Linked DNA regions of Homo sapiens: all the other regions are linked to region 2. The links are contacts of gene promoters, found by promoter capture Hi-C in human tissues and cell types (Jung and others, 2019). All regions are on one chromosome and are shown on one strand. Each heading gives the region's core, a stretch centred on a gene start or on the middle of the fragment in contact. The rest is flanking DNA. Distances are from core to core; before and after follow the strand shown. Region 1 overlaps HACD2 (3-hydroxyacyl-CoA dehydratase 2). Region 2 holds the start of ADCY5 (adenylate cyclase 5). Region 3 overlaps ADCY5 (adenylate cyclase 5).

What was found. Contacts are between HindIII fragments. The study calls those that stand out against the background at their distance.
Region 1: a fragment that was not itself captured here is called in contact with the fragment with the promoter of ADCY5 in region 2 in 1 of the 25 tissues and cell types used here (adrenal gland).
Region 3: a fragment that was not itself captured here is called in contact with the fragment with the promoter of ADCY5 in region 2 in 3 of the 25 tissues and cell types used here (dorsolateral prefrontal cortex, hippocampus and stomach).

The regions. Positions count from the first base shown.
Region 1 is chr3:123,489,998-123,494,439 of GRCh38, forward strand. HACD2 (3-hydroxyacyl-CoA dehydratase 2) reads right to left here. Exons shown (of 7, transcript NM_198402.5): 7 at 1,557-4,442. Among named protein-coding and RNA genes, the nearest start is that of ADCY5, 43 kb to the left of the region's middle. The HindIII fragment of the contact is 7,460 bases long and covers 1-4,442 here.
Region 2 is chr3:123,447,840-123,452,766 of GRCh38, forward strand. ADCY5 (adenylate cyclase 5) reads right to left here and starts at 1,251. Exons shown (of 21, transcript NM_183357.3): 1 at 1-1,251. The coding sequence starts at 706. RefSeq lists an enhancer at 1-312. The HindIII fragment of the contact is 15,282 bases long and covers 1-4,927 here.
Region 3 is chr3:123,407,356-123,411,792 of GRCh38, forward strand. All of the region lies in intron 1 of ADCY5 (adenylate cyclase 5), which reads right to left. Among named protein-coding and RNA genes, the nearest start is that of ADCY5, 40 kb to the right of the region's middle. The HindIII fragment of the contact is 4,514 bases long and covers 749-4,437 here.

The sequences.
Region 1 (4,442 bases), core at 774-3,273, 43 kb after region 2:
AGAGAAATGTTAATAGGTATGGCTAATTTTGGTAATAGTTGCTTAGAACAGTTTCTTCACCATTAAACTGTATGACAATGAGCCAGGCTATTTGTGAGGCTGGGATTTTTTTCTTTTCAATAATAAAAGGAATTGAAAAGCTAGTCCTCATTCTTGTTAAAGGGAATAGAAAAACACAGCAGTATTTTTGGAATGCTGTGTAACAGTAGGTCTCTTAATTATACCAATGGTAATTCCTCCAGGCTAAGGCTTATATTAACATAGTACACATAATTGCCACAAAATATGACAATGACAAATTGGAAAGCCCTTGTCTCCATTACCATGCTAACATTGTAAAGGTTGTGTTTTCTGAGTAGCCTCTACTATTAACTTTACCATCTGTTCCGCAGTTTCAGCTGCAATACTTTTTTCATAAATGAAAAAGCCAACCTCTGAAGCTGAATAGGCTCTACATGAGGAGAGGTGGTCTAACCTCTGAGCTGGGAACATCTAGGCTGCGATCAGATGGCATTTAGAAGGGAAGTGTTCTCCTTTGGAACAAAGACCACACTCTTAGGCCGTGGTGATGATCTGAGAAAGAGCTGGCAGACTCAGGTGGGGAGCACATCACTGCTACAGGCACCATGATCAAGTCGTCACTGGGAAAAGTGACTAGAACATACCCAGCACCAGAGGCCTAGAGCTAGATCAGCTGTGACCCAGCGGAGGACACCCCAAGGCAGTGTCCTTCCCACCACTTCTTACTGCGAGCCTGAGTAAGGGGGGGCCACTCCTGGGATTCCTGTGTTTGGAGGCATTTTCAGAATGAGGTACTTGAACTTCACCACATCTTGCTTTAATGTAAGATGAACAGTGCTGGGCAACAGGATCTCCCGCTGAACTTCTGTTAGAAAAGTTACACTAACAGGCTGGGCGTGGTGGCTCACACCTGTAATCCCAGGCGTGGTGGGAGGCCAAGGCGGGTGGATCACCTGAGGTTAGGAGTTCGAGACCAGCCTGGCCAACATGGTGAAACCCCATCTCTACTAAAAATACAAAAAATTAGCCAGGTGTGGTGGCGGGTGCCTGTAATCCCAGCTACTTGGGAGGCTGAGGCAGAAACATCGCTTGAATCCGGGAGGTGAAGGTTGCAGTGAGCTGAGATCGTGCCATTGCACTCCAGCCTGGGCAACAACAGCGAAACTCTGTCTCAAAACAAAAAAAGAAAAGTTACACTAACAAAACCCCAGCTTGTTATAAGACAAGGTTCCTCAACCCCATGCTGATTAATATCTTAGATTCCCTGGTCACTTGCATGAGGAACCCCTTGTCCCTCTGCAGCCAGCTTGCAGACTGGCTTAGCCTGAAGACTGACTGGCAGGGAAGGACTTTTTGGAAACCTCTTAATATAATCTGTCTTTCCTGTAAGTGCAGAACCATTATGAATAGCAGAATTAGATTTTAAAATTGTCAAAGAGCTGGAGTCCATAATTGAACTGAAATTCTCCCATATTCCTGCAACACCACATTCAGGCCTACTGACTATGAAAAATCACTGCACTCACTGGTAGGTATTTCAAATCCAGGCAGAGCACACACCAGTTTATTTTGAAATGCAACACAGATCAGTATTTTATGAATACAACTTATTACTACATTATCAGGTAAAAACAGCTTTCAAATGCATGCATAGAAAGTTAAGCGTAGTCTCTGGACTCCTTATTTCTAAATATACAAAAAATACATTTAAATTATATAATTTTAGTGAATCAAAGACTTATAAAATTACAATTTTGGTTTTCACAACATAGAAAAAATACAAAAATGACTATATATACGGTTGTACAATTTTTTACCCAAATTTCAAAGGAGCAGTATGTATTGAATTTAATGTTTTATAATGTTTTATCTGAAACTCAGAACTGCAAGTAATTTGCAGGTTGTACCATATCAATGCCAACCTTTTATTATAAATGAATAACCAAAAAAATAAGTGAAAAATGAGGGCACGATCTCTTCTTACACCTCTTCAACTCTCCAGCATCTAAACCTTTCCTGTCAGAAGTCTGCTCTGGAGACTTTTTTCATCTGCAAGGACAGTGCTTTATTCCATGACTAACTCTCCATGGTGCCTCTGGATAATGGTTGGTATGTGTTAAATGAATAAGCCCAACCTCAGCAAACAGAACGCAGCAAGATGTAGATTAGCAGTCTGTGCTGACAAAAGCACTACTGCGGACCTCAAAGAATTCTCTGTCAGAAGAAGGCCCCCACGGAGGGATCTGAAATACATAATCAAGTGGGTAGTTGGGAGGATGATGCCTTTGACTATGCCCTGAAATGAAACCTCTAAGTCTGACAAAATACCCACAAAAACATGACCTTCCTTGTTCACACTTTATAAGAAGGTGTGACATTTGGTGGTGTGGTTGTTCTCAATTTATAAAATAATAAATGACTTCAAAGGAGAAATGAATTCATGTTAGGGATAAAGAAACCAGTTACTGAGAGAGGTTACTGAAGGACACAGTGACATGCCTTACTTATCTGCCATAAGTATTCTAAATGTTGATGTACAAAAATACACACTGGGGTTGAGACCCTTTTTGAAAAGGGAGCTGTGTGCTGTGTTCTCATTGCCAAAGTTCAATTCAATGCAACACCACTGTTTGCAACAGAATGTTTTTTATAAGTAGTGACAAATTATAATAAGGAGGCCCAAATAAAACCCCCAGTCCAGCAACCCTGGAAAAGCTGCATTTTTCATCCTGATTTCTAGAATTTTTCCAAAAACAACTGAAAAAATCTAACAGAACAAAGTAAATGACAAATATAACCCAAGTTGATTCTATTTTATAGTAGAAATACATTATGGAAGAATAAAATGAGAGAAAAGTCATGCAAAAAATCTTTCCCACATATTTTGTCTATCAAATACAAGAATAGATTCTAATTTCAACATGTCCAAGTTGAGTGCTGACTTTAAGAAGCAGAATTTTAATGTTCAATTCAAAAATAATTTATTACACACCTGCCTGCATTAAATTTTCAAACTTCTATAAAAATAAGCACTTAAAAATTTAGTTTTCCAGGGGTTGGGTGCAGTGGCTCATGCCTGCAATCCCAGCACTTTGGGAGGCTGAGGCGGGTGGATCACGAGGTCAGGAGATCAAGACCATCCTGGCTAACACGGTGAAACCCCGTCTCTACTAAAAATACAAAAAAAATTAGCTGGGTGTGGTGGCAGGCACCTGTAGTCCCAGCTACTCAGGAGGCTGAGGCAGGAGGATGGCGTGAACCCGGGAGGTGGAGCTTGCAGTGAGCTGAGATCGCGCCACTGCACTCCAGCCTGGGCAACAGAGCGAGACTCCGTCTCAAGAGAAAAAAAAAATTTAGTTTTCCAGTATGAGTTTTCTGATATTCGCAATTATATTTTAAATGACAACTACTCAATAAGCTAAACTTTTAAACTCTTAAAGTTCAACATCAACCCCCACCCTGCCCCCAAAAAAAGGCAGCTGCAGGGGATGGGGGAGGAAAAAAGGCTCCATGAAGAAGATACTGTGCTATTTAATACTTAATGCACATCTAAACTTGGGCTTTCACATTTTCATCCAACTCTTTCTTTCTTATTTTTTTTCAGTTTACCTACAGTTGCAGTACCAATCCTTTCTTGAGGAGTTTTAAATGCATGGTTGAGCAATTAAATTGTATGAGGATGTGACATGGATTAGACAATGTCGGTAGTACCAAACTATTTCTTGGCTGCTCCAACATGCGGAGATGACACTGCTTTTAGCTCATGACAGCCCAAGGGGAATGTTTTACTGACTATGGACTTATAGCTTGGTGGAAATTAACATAGGAAGTTAATTAGCAAAAGTATCCAAACAGAAGAGTGAATGAAAATTTAAAAATAAAACAATAATGGTGTATAAATCTATTCCTGAATGTTTTTCCTGACTACCTTTCTAAAGCAACACCTTCCATGTGCTTTCACTAACACAGCCTCCTTTCCTATGTGACTGGATCCGCTTCTTCAGGGCCATCAGTGCATCAGTGAGAATAGCTACTGGCAAACACGTTACTCAGAGGTGTTCTGAGAATGGTGCTGTGAAAAGGACTTGTCACTTTTGAGCTATTGAGCTCCCCCTTTCTGAGACCTGTCATTTTGTTAAGACATGATTGAGGCTGAGCTCCAGATAAGATATATTCTTTACGGTACACACATACTTATTAGATTCAAGCACGTTTCTTAGTGGCAGGCAGTAATGACTCAATTGGAAACAAACAAAAGGGTTCTAAGTTGTTTTCTGATTACAGGCACTACCCCGAAGCTTCATAGACATATACATTTTATAATTCATTCATTAGATGTGAGGGGATAGGTCCCAGCCATAACTTCAGAGCATTCCAGAGAACAGAGTTTGCCGCTTCAAAAATACAAAGTTTCCAGCATG
Region 2 (4,927 bases), core at 1-2,500:
GGAAGAAGTAGCGCTGGTACAGCCGCTCCAGTTTGTCCGACGGGAACTTCTTGGAGCGGAATATCTGCAGCAACGCCAGGCAGCAGGCGCCCAGGGACAGCACCGCGCCGGGCCCCGCGCCCGAGCCCGAGTCCGCCGAGCTGCCGCCATCCCCGGACCCCTCGCCGCCCTCGACGGCGCCGGCCTCCAGCTCGTCGGCCGCGCGCCCCTTGCCCCGCCGCTCCTCCAGACCCACCTCCACCGAGCGAGGGCGCACCTCCGTCCCGCCCGCCGAGGCAGCCGCCGCCGCCGAGCCGCCGCCGCCGCCCGCAGGGGGCGCCCGGGTGCTGCCCCCGCTGGCCGCGCCCCGCCGCTGCCGGCGGCTGCCGCGACCGCAGTCGTCGCCGCCGCGCTCCTGCCAGGCGGACTTGGAGCGGAAGCTGAAGCCGAAGCCCCCGGCCAGGGGGTCGTCACCGCTCAGCGGAGGATCGTCGTCGTCGTCGCTGCGCCAGCGGCTGGCCAGGCGCTGCTGCTGCTGCGGGGTCACCGCCCCCCCGGGTTTCTTGGTGGAGCCGCGGGCAGAGCCCCCGGGGGCATGGGGGTAGCCATTCGCGCGGGAATCGGCCTCGCCCCACGCAGAGCGGTGTTCGGGGCCTCCCCGGGGCGCCGGCGCCGCAGTCTTCTGCGCCGCGTAGCCCGGGGGGCTCACGCTTTTGGAGCCGGACATCCCCCCCTCGGCCTCGTCGTCTCCTTCCTCCTCCCCCGGAAGCCGGGCCGGGGGTCTCCAAGGGGAGGGCGGACGGCCGAGCAGGGGGACCAGGCTAGGGTCACACGTCGGGGGCGGCCCGGGGCCCTGCGCTGCAGCGGGGCATCTTGGCACCCCCGTCCTGAGCGGAGGAGGAGGGCACAGCCCCGAGGTGAGAAGTAGCTGAGGATCCGCGTCAGAAGTCCCAGGTCCGAAATGGAGTTGCCTCCGAGGTGGGGTCGCAGGGACTGGTCTGGCTGCTGCTGCGCCGCACGCGGAGAGACGTCCGGGATCCTGGCTCGCGTCGAGCTCGACGAGGGCCGGAGTTGCGGACGAGACGGGACGGAGTGGTGTCCTTGCGGGCGGTGCCTCCTCGGGCCGGCAGTGCCCGGGCGCGGCGCTCGCTGATTCCGCCTAAGCGGAGCCCAGCTGCTCTCGGGGCTCGGCGGCGGCGAGGGCGGCTCGGCGGGGGTCCCGGCGAAGAGACACTGCGGGTGCGCTTTCCTCGCAGCGGACTGGGAGCGACTGGGAGGTGCGGGCGCCAGCCAGCATTATTTTCTTACGAGGGGTGGGGAGGTGGGATGGGAGGTGGAGAGGACGGGGGAGGGGGCGACGGGCGGAGCAACAGCTCCGGAGCCCCGGGGGGGAGGGTCCTGGAGCCCGGGGGGGCCGTTGCCCGCATCCCCCACCTCTCGCGGCGAGAGTGGATGCGTGGCCCCGGCGAAAGCCGAGCCGAGCCTTCGGCGCGTCCGCGCAGGGGGCGGGGTCCGGGTCAGGGACCGGCTCCTGCGGTGCGGCCCTTCCCCTCTCGCCTCTCCCTTTCCCGCAAACGGAGCGGGGCCGGCCGGGACCTGCCGGCCCGGAGAGCTGTCGCGCCCGCTTCGCAAGCCCCAAGCTCCTCGTCGCCGGCTGCGGGCCCACCGCGGCCGGCGCGGAACGACTAGGCGGAGGACGGAATCCGGCGCAGCGCTGCCGCGGTTCTGCCCCGACGCAGGCAGGCTTCTCCCGGGGAGTAAGGCATCCAGAGATCCAGCGCCGGGGCTCAGAAGCAGCCGGCCCAGAGGGGCCCGCCTGAGAGCCGCGGCGCCCGAGAGGCGCTCCGGGGGGGCCCGCGGGAGCCCGGCTCAGGGCGCGCCATGCACGCTTCGGGCCCTGCGCCGCTCCGGCCGCTCGCGCCGCTCCTCCCTTCTCGCCCGCTCGCCGCCGCCGGAGAGCCCTCCGCATCCCCTCCTCCCGCTGCCTCCCCGCCCCCCGCGCCGCCCGGGCCTCGGCTCACAGCCGCGCGAGGCCGCCTCCGCCCCCGGCCTGGCCATGGCCCCAGCCTCGGCGCCCCGCGGGCATCCTCAGGCCTGGCCGCGGGCACCCCAGTTCCCCTTCCTCACCTAAAATTCTCGCTGCGCCCCTCCCTCCCTGGGACTAGGAGCCGCATCCAGCCTGCGGTCCCGTCACCAGACCTGGGTGGAGCGCGGTCTTCCCCCGCCCCCGGCCAGGGCTCCAGCGCCCCCAGTCCTAGCTCCCCTCTTTTGTATCCCCCTTTAATCCCCCTCCCCCCATTTAACCCAACTTCAGCCCCGGCGCTGCGCCCCCCTTCCCTGGCCCGGCTCGATTGGCCGCTTCCGGAGCTGTCAGACTACAGTCCGGCGCTCTTATTGGGCGATTCTCTGGCCCGGCGGCTGTGCCAAAGGAGGGCGCACCGGGTGGGGGGCGCCTGGGCAGCGAGTGCCTCAAGGAGAAGGAGAACAGAGTCCCTGGAGGGGTCTCAGGGGCCGGAGAGCCAGACCCGGAAATGGACAGGGGAGATGCAGAAACAGGACTTCTGAGACGCAGGAAGACAGTGATGGAAAAGATGGTGATGCAGTGGGTGAGGCCGATGCAGCCGGGGCGGGGCGGACAGGGAGGCTTTGGTGGGTAGTTACCAGGAGAAAGCCCCACAGTGAACACTGGAAACACCTGGCTTTTATAAAGCGCTCTTTGCCTGTTCGTAAAGTCTCATAAATCTCACTTGGTTCCCGTCAGTAATCCTAGGATGAGACAGAGGACAGAGACCGTGTAGCTATTCCCAGCTTATAGATGCAGAAACTGAGGCTCTGGGAGCTTATTCAACTTGCTATAGGTCACACAGGTCTACTAACTTGGCACCCAAAGGTCCTTCGTCAGCGCCAGACTGCCTCCCTAACCTAACAAGGTGTTAGCAGGAAGGATGGGCACCTGAGCAAGCTGGCGTGCCCACTTGGGGGGAAGCAGGGGAAGGGGAAAATGGCTAGATACACAGCACCAGCCACAAGAGGCAGGAATGGAGAGAAGGATTCGACTGCTAGGCAAAAAGGACGTAGGCCTGTAGAATGATGTGTCTACCCAATTCCCTTTGCCCCCAAGCTGTCCTGCTGGAGTTCTGACAGTCTAAACCCTGGAGAGGTGGGAGACCACACTCCTACCCAGCCTGGGGGTAAACAGCTTTTACTTTCCCCTTCTTCATCCTCCAACTCTCTCCCCAGAGCTTCTGACAGGGAGCCTAGAGGTCTAAGTGAGCTTCCTTCTTTGTCTCTCTCTGCTGGTCATCTCTGCAGACTGGAAGATAAACCTTGCCAGAGTTACAAATTGGGAGGAGAAAAATTCCAAGAGGTCAGAATAAACTAACCCTTGGGTAATCCAGCCTTTGAGTATTCCACTATTAGCCAAGTTGTAAAAAAAAACATGAATTTAGTCAATAAAAATTCTAGAGAACCCTCAATGTACAAAGCATTGTGCTAGTTGCTACCAGGATAGAGAGATGACCAAACTCTAGACCGGGAACAAGTCGAACAAGTCAGTGACGGAGAAGAGCTAGCCACTATCTCTAGGTCAGAGCAAAGTTCTGGGTTCAATAGAAGTGCAAACAGCACCTCGGGCATTCAGAGAGAGGGGGTGTCACTTCCCACTGTGAGGGCCAAACAAGGGCCTGGAAGTCAAACCTGGGTCTAGCAGGGAAGGATGTCTAAGAAAGGGAGGATGGACTAATTAATATTTACTAAGCAACTGTTGTATGTCTGTAAACATTTTATTGTCAGATAACTATTCTGAGGAAGGTTATCCCCACTATAAAGATGAGAAAACAGACTTAGGGAATCAAAAAGTTTGTCCAGCCAGGCATGGTGGCTCATGCCTGTAACCCCAGCACTTTGGGAGGCTGAGGCAGGCAGATCATCTGAGGTCTGGCGCTCATGACCAGCCTGGCCAACATGGTGAAACCCGTCTCTACTAAAAATACAAAAATTAGCCGGGCGTGGCGGTGTGAGCCTGTAATCCTACTCTGGAGGCTGAGGCAGGAGAATCACTTGAATCCGGGAGGTGGAGGTTGCAGTGAGCCGAGATCATGCCATTGCACTCCAGCCTGGTTGACAGAATGAGACTCTGTCTCAAAAAAAAAATAAAAAATAAAAAGGCCGGGCATGGTGGCTCACGACTCTAATCCTAGCACTTTGGGAGGCCAAGGCAGGCGGATCACGAGGTCAAGAGATCGAAACCATCCTGGCCAACGTGGTGAAACCCTGTCTCTACTAAAAATACAAAAATTAGCTAGGCGTGGTGGTGTGTGCCTGTAGTCCCAGCTACTTGGGAGGCTGAGGCAGGAGAATTGCTTGAACCCAGAAGGTGGAAGTTGCAGTGAGCCAAGGTTGCACCACTGCACTCCAGCCTGGCAACACAGCAATACTCTGTCTCAAAAAAAATAAAATAAAATTATTTATATATATATATATATATATATATGAGTTTGCCCAAAGCTCATAGTTGTAGCAGTCTGCTCGTTGTATTCTACCATGCAGCAATGTAGCAGATATGACATGGGTGGCACCCTCAAGACATAGTCAACTGCACGGACAGGGGCCACAGGGCCAGAGGTATCAAGGCTATTGATCAAGGTTCCATCCTTGATCCTCTCATCTTCTCATTCCCAGAGCTATCCCTAAGTCATTCCTCTTAATTTTATTCAATTTTTAAAAATAATTGTCTTACAACAAAAGCCATGTATGATTGATGTGGGAAAAAAATTAAAAAGAAAGAAAACACACTCATAATCATATCACCAAAGAACCAGTATTGGCCGGGCGCGGTGGCTCACGCCTATAATCCCAGTACTTTGGGAGGCTGAGGAGGGCGGATCATGAGATCAGGAGTTCGAGACCAGCCTGGCCAACATGGTGAAACCCCATCTCTACTAAAAAT
Region 3 (4,437 bases), core at 1,756-4,255, 39 kb before region 2:
CAGATAAATGAAATGTGCTCTAGCTATAAAATGGAATATTATTCATCCATAAAACACGAATAAAGTACTGATTCATACTACAATGTGGATGAACCTGAAAAATATTTTGCAAATGCCAGGTATAGTGGCTCATCCCTATCATCTCAGCACTTTGGGAGGCCAAAGCAGGAGGTATCGCTTGAGCTCAGAAGGTTAAGACCAGCCTGGGCAACATAGTGAGACCCTATCTCTACTAAAAAAAAAAAAAAAAAAAAAATTAGCTGGGCACGGTGGTATGCACCTGCAGTCTCAGCTACTAGGGAGTCTGAGGTTGGAGGATTGCTTAAGCCAGGGAGATAAAGGCTACTGTGAGCTATTATATGATCATTCCACTGCACTGCAGCCTGGGCAACAGAGTGAGACCCTGTCTCAAAAAAAAAAAAAGTTGCAAAGTGAAAGAAGTCAGACACAAAAAGATACATATTGTTATGATTCCACTTATAGGACATATCCAGAATAGGTAAATCCATACAGACATTAAGCAGACTAGTGGTTGCCAGGGGCTGAGGGGAGGAGGAAATTCGGAGTGACTACTAATGGGTATTGGGTTTTCTTTGGGGCTGACAAAAATGTTTGGGATAGACAGAGGTGGAAAATTGAATTTCATCTCAATTTTTTAAAGCGTGGTTTTTTAGAAAACGCATCAATTATGTACAGAATTATGTACAGTGGCCACATAAAAAGAAATATCAGAGGTGGTCTCAGAGAATACAAAGAGCCCTGGACCTACGGTGAAAAATCTAGACACCAGTTCCATGTTTGATGCCTGGGACACATTAAGCAAATCATGGAACATCACTTCCAAGGGATGCTCTACCGCATGAACATGGTCGTAACACGTATTTTCAGTGTCGTTATGAGAATCGAGTGAGATAATGTAGGAACAGCACACAAAAGACATTCATTTGTACACTCAGCAAGAAAATTAGCATACAAATGTTACGTTTTTTGTTTTTTTTTTTTTTTTTAAAGGCAGACGTTGGCCGGGCACGGTGGCTCACGCCTGTAATCCAAGCACTTTGGGAGGCCGAGGTGGGCGGATCACGAGGTCAGGAGTTCGAGACCAGCCAGCCCAATATGGTGAAACCCCATCTCTACTAAAAATACAAAAATTAGCTGGGCACAGTGGCATGCGCCTGTAGTCCCAGCTACTCGACAGGCTGAGGCGGAAGAATCACTTGAACCCAGGAGGCGCAGGTTGCAGTGAGCCGAGATGGCGCCACTGCACTCCAGCCTGGGCGACAGAGCAAGATTGCATCTAAAAAAAAAAAAAAGCAGACACAAAGTTCTAGCTGTACTCGGCCGGGCATGGTGGCTCACTCCTGTAATCTCAGCACTTTGGGAGGCCGAGTGGGTGGATCACCTGAGGGTAGGAATTCAAGATCAGCCTGGCCAACATGGTGAAACCCCATCTCTACCAAAAATACAAAAATTAGCCAGGTGTGGTGGCAGGTGGCTGTAATCCAGCTACTAGGGAGGCTGAGACAGGAGAATCGTTTGAACCCAGGAGGCAGAGGTTGCAGTGAGCCGAGGTCCTGCCACTGCACTCCAGCCTGGGCAACAGAGTGAGACTCTAACTCAAAAAATAAAATAAAATAAAAATAGCTATAACAAACCACATTTACTTACATAAAAATGTATCTCTGTAGATAAAGTATAGAAAAGATTTAGAGAGCTAGCTGGTGTTTTAAGCTTATGAAATATTTTCTATAAAATTATCTATACAGGCAGCCAGGCTCTTGATCTGGCTCTGCCTATAACCAGCCTGGAAAGTCTTTATAAAATCTGCTCCCCATCTGACCTTGGGTTTTTAGAAAAGTTTAACCCTTATAAGGGTCTGCTTTAACTATATCCACTCAACACCTAGTTCCTCTATGTGCTAGGGGCTGTGCTAGGTGCCATGGGGGCCCCCAGGGATTGGTAAGAGTGAGTCCCAATACTCCAGGTGTGTACAGTCGCAGGCCATGAAACCAGGTAGCATGTGGGGAAAAAGGACAGACGGCCCAGCACATGCTAGTTCTCAGGGTGGCCACTGGAGAAGGTATCCTTGGAGTCAGGGTCTAAAGGTGGGATGCAGCTTTCACAGGTGGAAAGGATGTGTTCCTGCTAATAGTCCTGTCCAAGCAGCACAGATAGGTAAGGGAAGCACCACCAAAAATCCTCAACTGATTATCTAGCACAGTGGTTCTCCAAGTGGGATATCCAGAGCAGGAGCAGCTGCAGCATCACCCAGGAAGCAGCTAGACATGCAAATTATTGGGCTCCACCTCTGACCTTGTGACTCAGAAACTCTGGGAGCCCAGCAAGCTCTCCAGGAGGTTAAGATGCCCACTCATGTTGAGATGCCCCTCTTGCACCTCACCTGCTTCCTTAACAGAGGCCGGGCAGAAGGTAGAAACTGCCCCAGAGACATTCCCTCACTCACCGGCCCCTCCCACCCTCCAAGCCCCAGTTGGATGAGCTGAGAAAGTTCCCTGTGGTTAGAGGAGCTAATCTATCACCTGGATATAAATTAACTTGCCCTCTCTCGTCACCAGCCCACTGACCTGGGAAAGGCAAACACGCAGCTGGCAGGGAAAGAGCAGTAATAAATCTCTTTTTCTACAGGTCCTCCCACACCCACTTCCCCAACTGAGACCTGTGTTCCCTGAGGCAGTGTGGCCCCATAGCCCTGAGGTCCCTCTGCTCTCCCACATGAGCAGGTGCTGGATCCGGTCAACCCAGTGAGAGGCCCCCATCTGCCCTCAGGGCCTCCACCAGAACTAGGAGAATGAGAAAGGGAGGGAAGGATGGGGGCTGGAACACAGCTCATCACCCTTAAGGATGGCAGAGTGACTGGAAGCTTCCCTTGTAGAACTCCTCAGGAAACAGCCCACAAAGACTCCCTCCAGGGCAGCTCTGTCTTGGCAGAGTTCCATCCCCCTCCTCCTCCTCCCCCAACCCTTATCCCCCAATTCCTCCTCCTCCTCCTCAACACAGCAGCCTGGGGCCACCCCGTACCTCCCAGGCATAAGTAGGAATGGTAGAGCCATATCCCAAGGTGAACTGCCTGTTGGGGAAGGGCTAATCTCCTATTATTCCAACACCCTTGGCCACATCCTGCACTCTGTCTGCCTTTGGAATGACCAGGTGAAAACCAACATAACGTCCACCTTAGAAAGCTGCAGTAAGAATGAAATCTAACAGGACACATAAAGGACATAAAATAAAGGCTCAACAATGGCAGCTCTTAGATTAATCACCATCACATCCATTCTTTTTTTTTTGGAGGTAGAATCTCACTAGCTCTGTCGCCCAGGCTGGAGTGCAGTGGTGCAATCATAGCTTACTGCAGCCTCGAACTCCTGAGCTCAAGCGATCCTCCCACCTCAGCCTCTTGAGTAGCTAGGACTACAGGCATGTATCACCTTGCTGGGCTAACTTTTTCATTTTTTGTAGAGATGCAGTCTCACTATGTTGCCCAGGCTGCTCTCAATCTCCTGGCCTCAAGTGATCCTTCTGCCTGGGCCTCCCAAAGTGCTGGGATTACAGACGTGAGCCATCTCACCCCATCCTTATTCAAACTACTTAAATAGCTATCACCTACTGGATACGGCCTAAATTCCTTAGCACTAGCCATTCCAGCACCCACTTATCTCCAAAGCAGCAGCTATACCAAATCACTCAGGTTTGTCAAATATGCCCTCTACTACCAAGCCTAACCCGTTCCCTCCATGAGCCTCCTGTTTCAGTCTGCCAGAAAGCTCTTCTTCCTTGCCCTGTGCCTCCACCAACCTCTTCCATTGCAGTTTCCCTGGGCCTCCTGGAATCCACAGTCAAGGGCGTACTAGTGCCTGCTTCGAGGAGAGCCTGCCATCCACCATTGGGGTCCACTCAGAGGGCTGAGCAAGTATAAGAGCAAAACAAGTGTCTGGCAAGTGGACTGGATTCCCTTCAGTTCAGAAGGGAAACCAGAGCCTCAAATAAGCAGGGAGCAGACCCCTGACAGGCCTCACCGATCACTGACTAAGGAGTTAGATCACCGGGCTGGGGGCCTGTCCTCGGCACCTAGGGGAGGTAACACTCATAGTGCCTGAACTGAGACAGAAACTCCTGAGACAACAGATGCTGACTCAGCCTGAGGGGACAAAGGACAAAGGCCTAAGCCTGGCCCAGGATCCCAGTGCCTATCTTTCTCCTTCCCCTGCCTCTTATCCCCAACCCCCAGCCAGCAACATGTTTTAAGTCCAAGCTCCCACAGAGTGCCAGGCCCAGCACCCCCAATCCAACCCCAGGACTCGTTCCAGAGGCAAAGCAGGGTGGGGCAACAGTTGCTCCTGTCCTCACAGCCTGGTGACCAGGGTGGCCCTGGGACCAAAGCCTCTGGGCTCACAGCTTAACCTAATGGGACACCTGAGC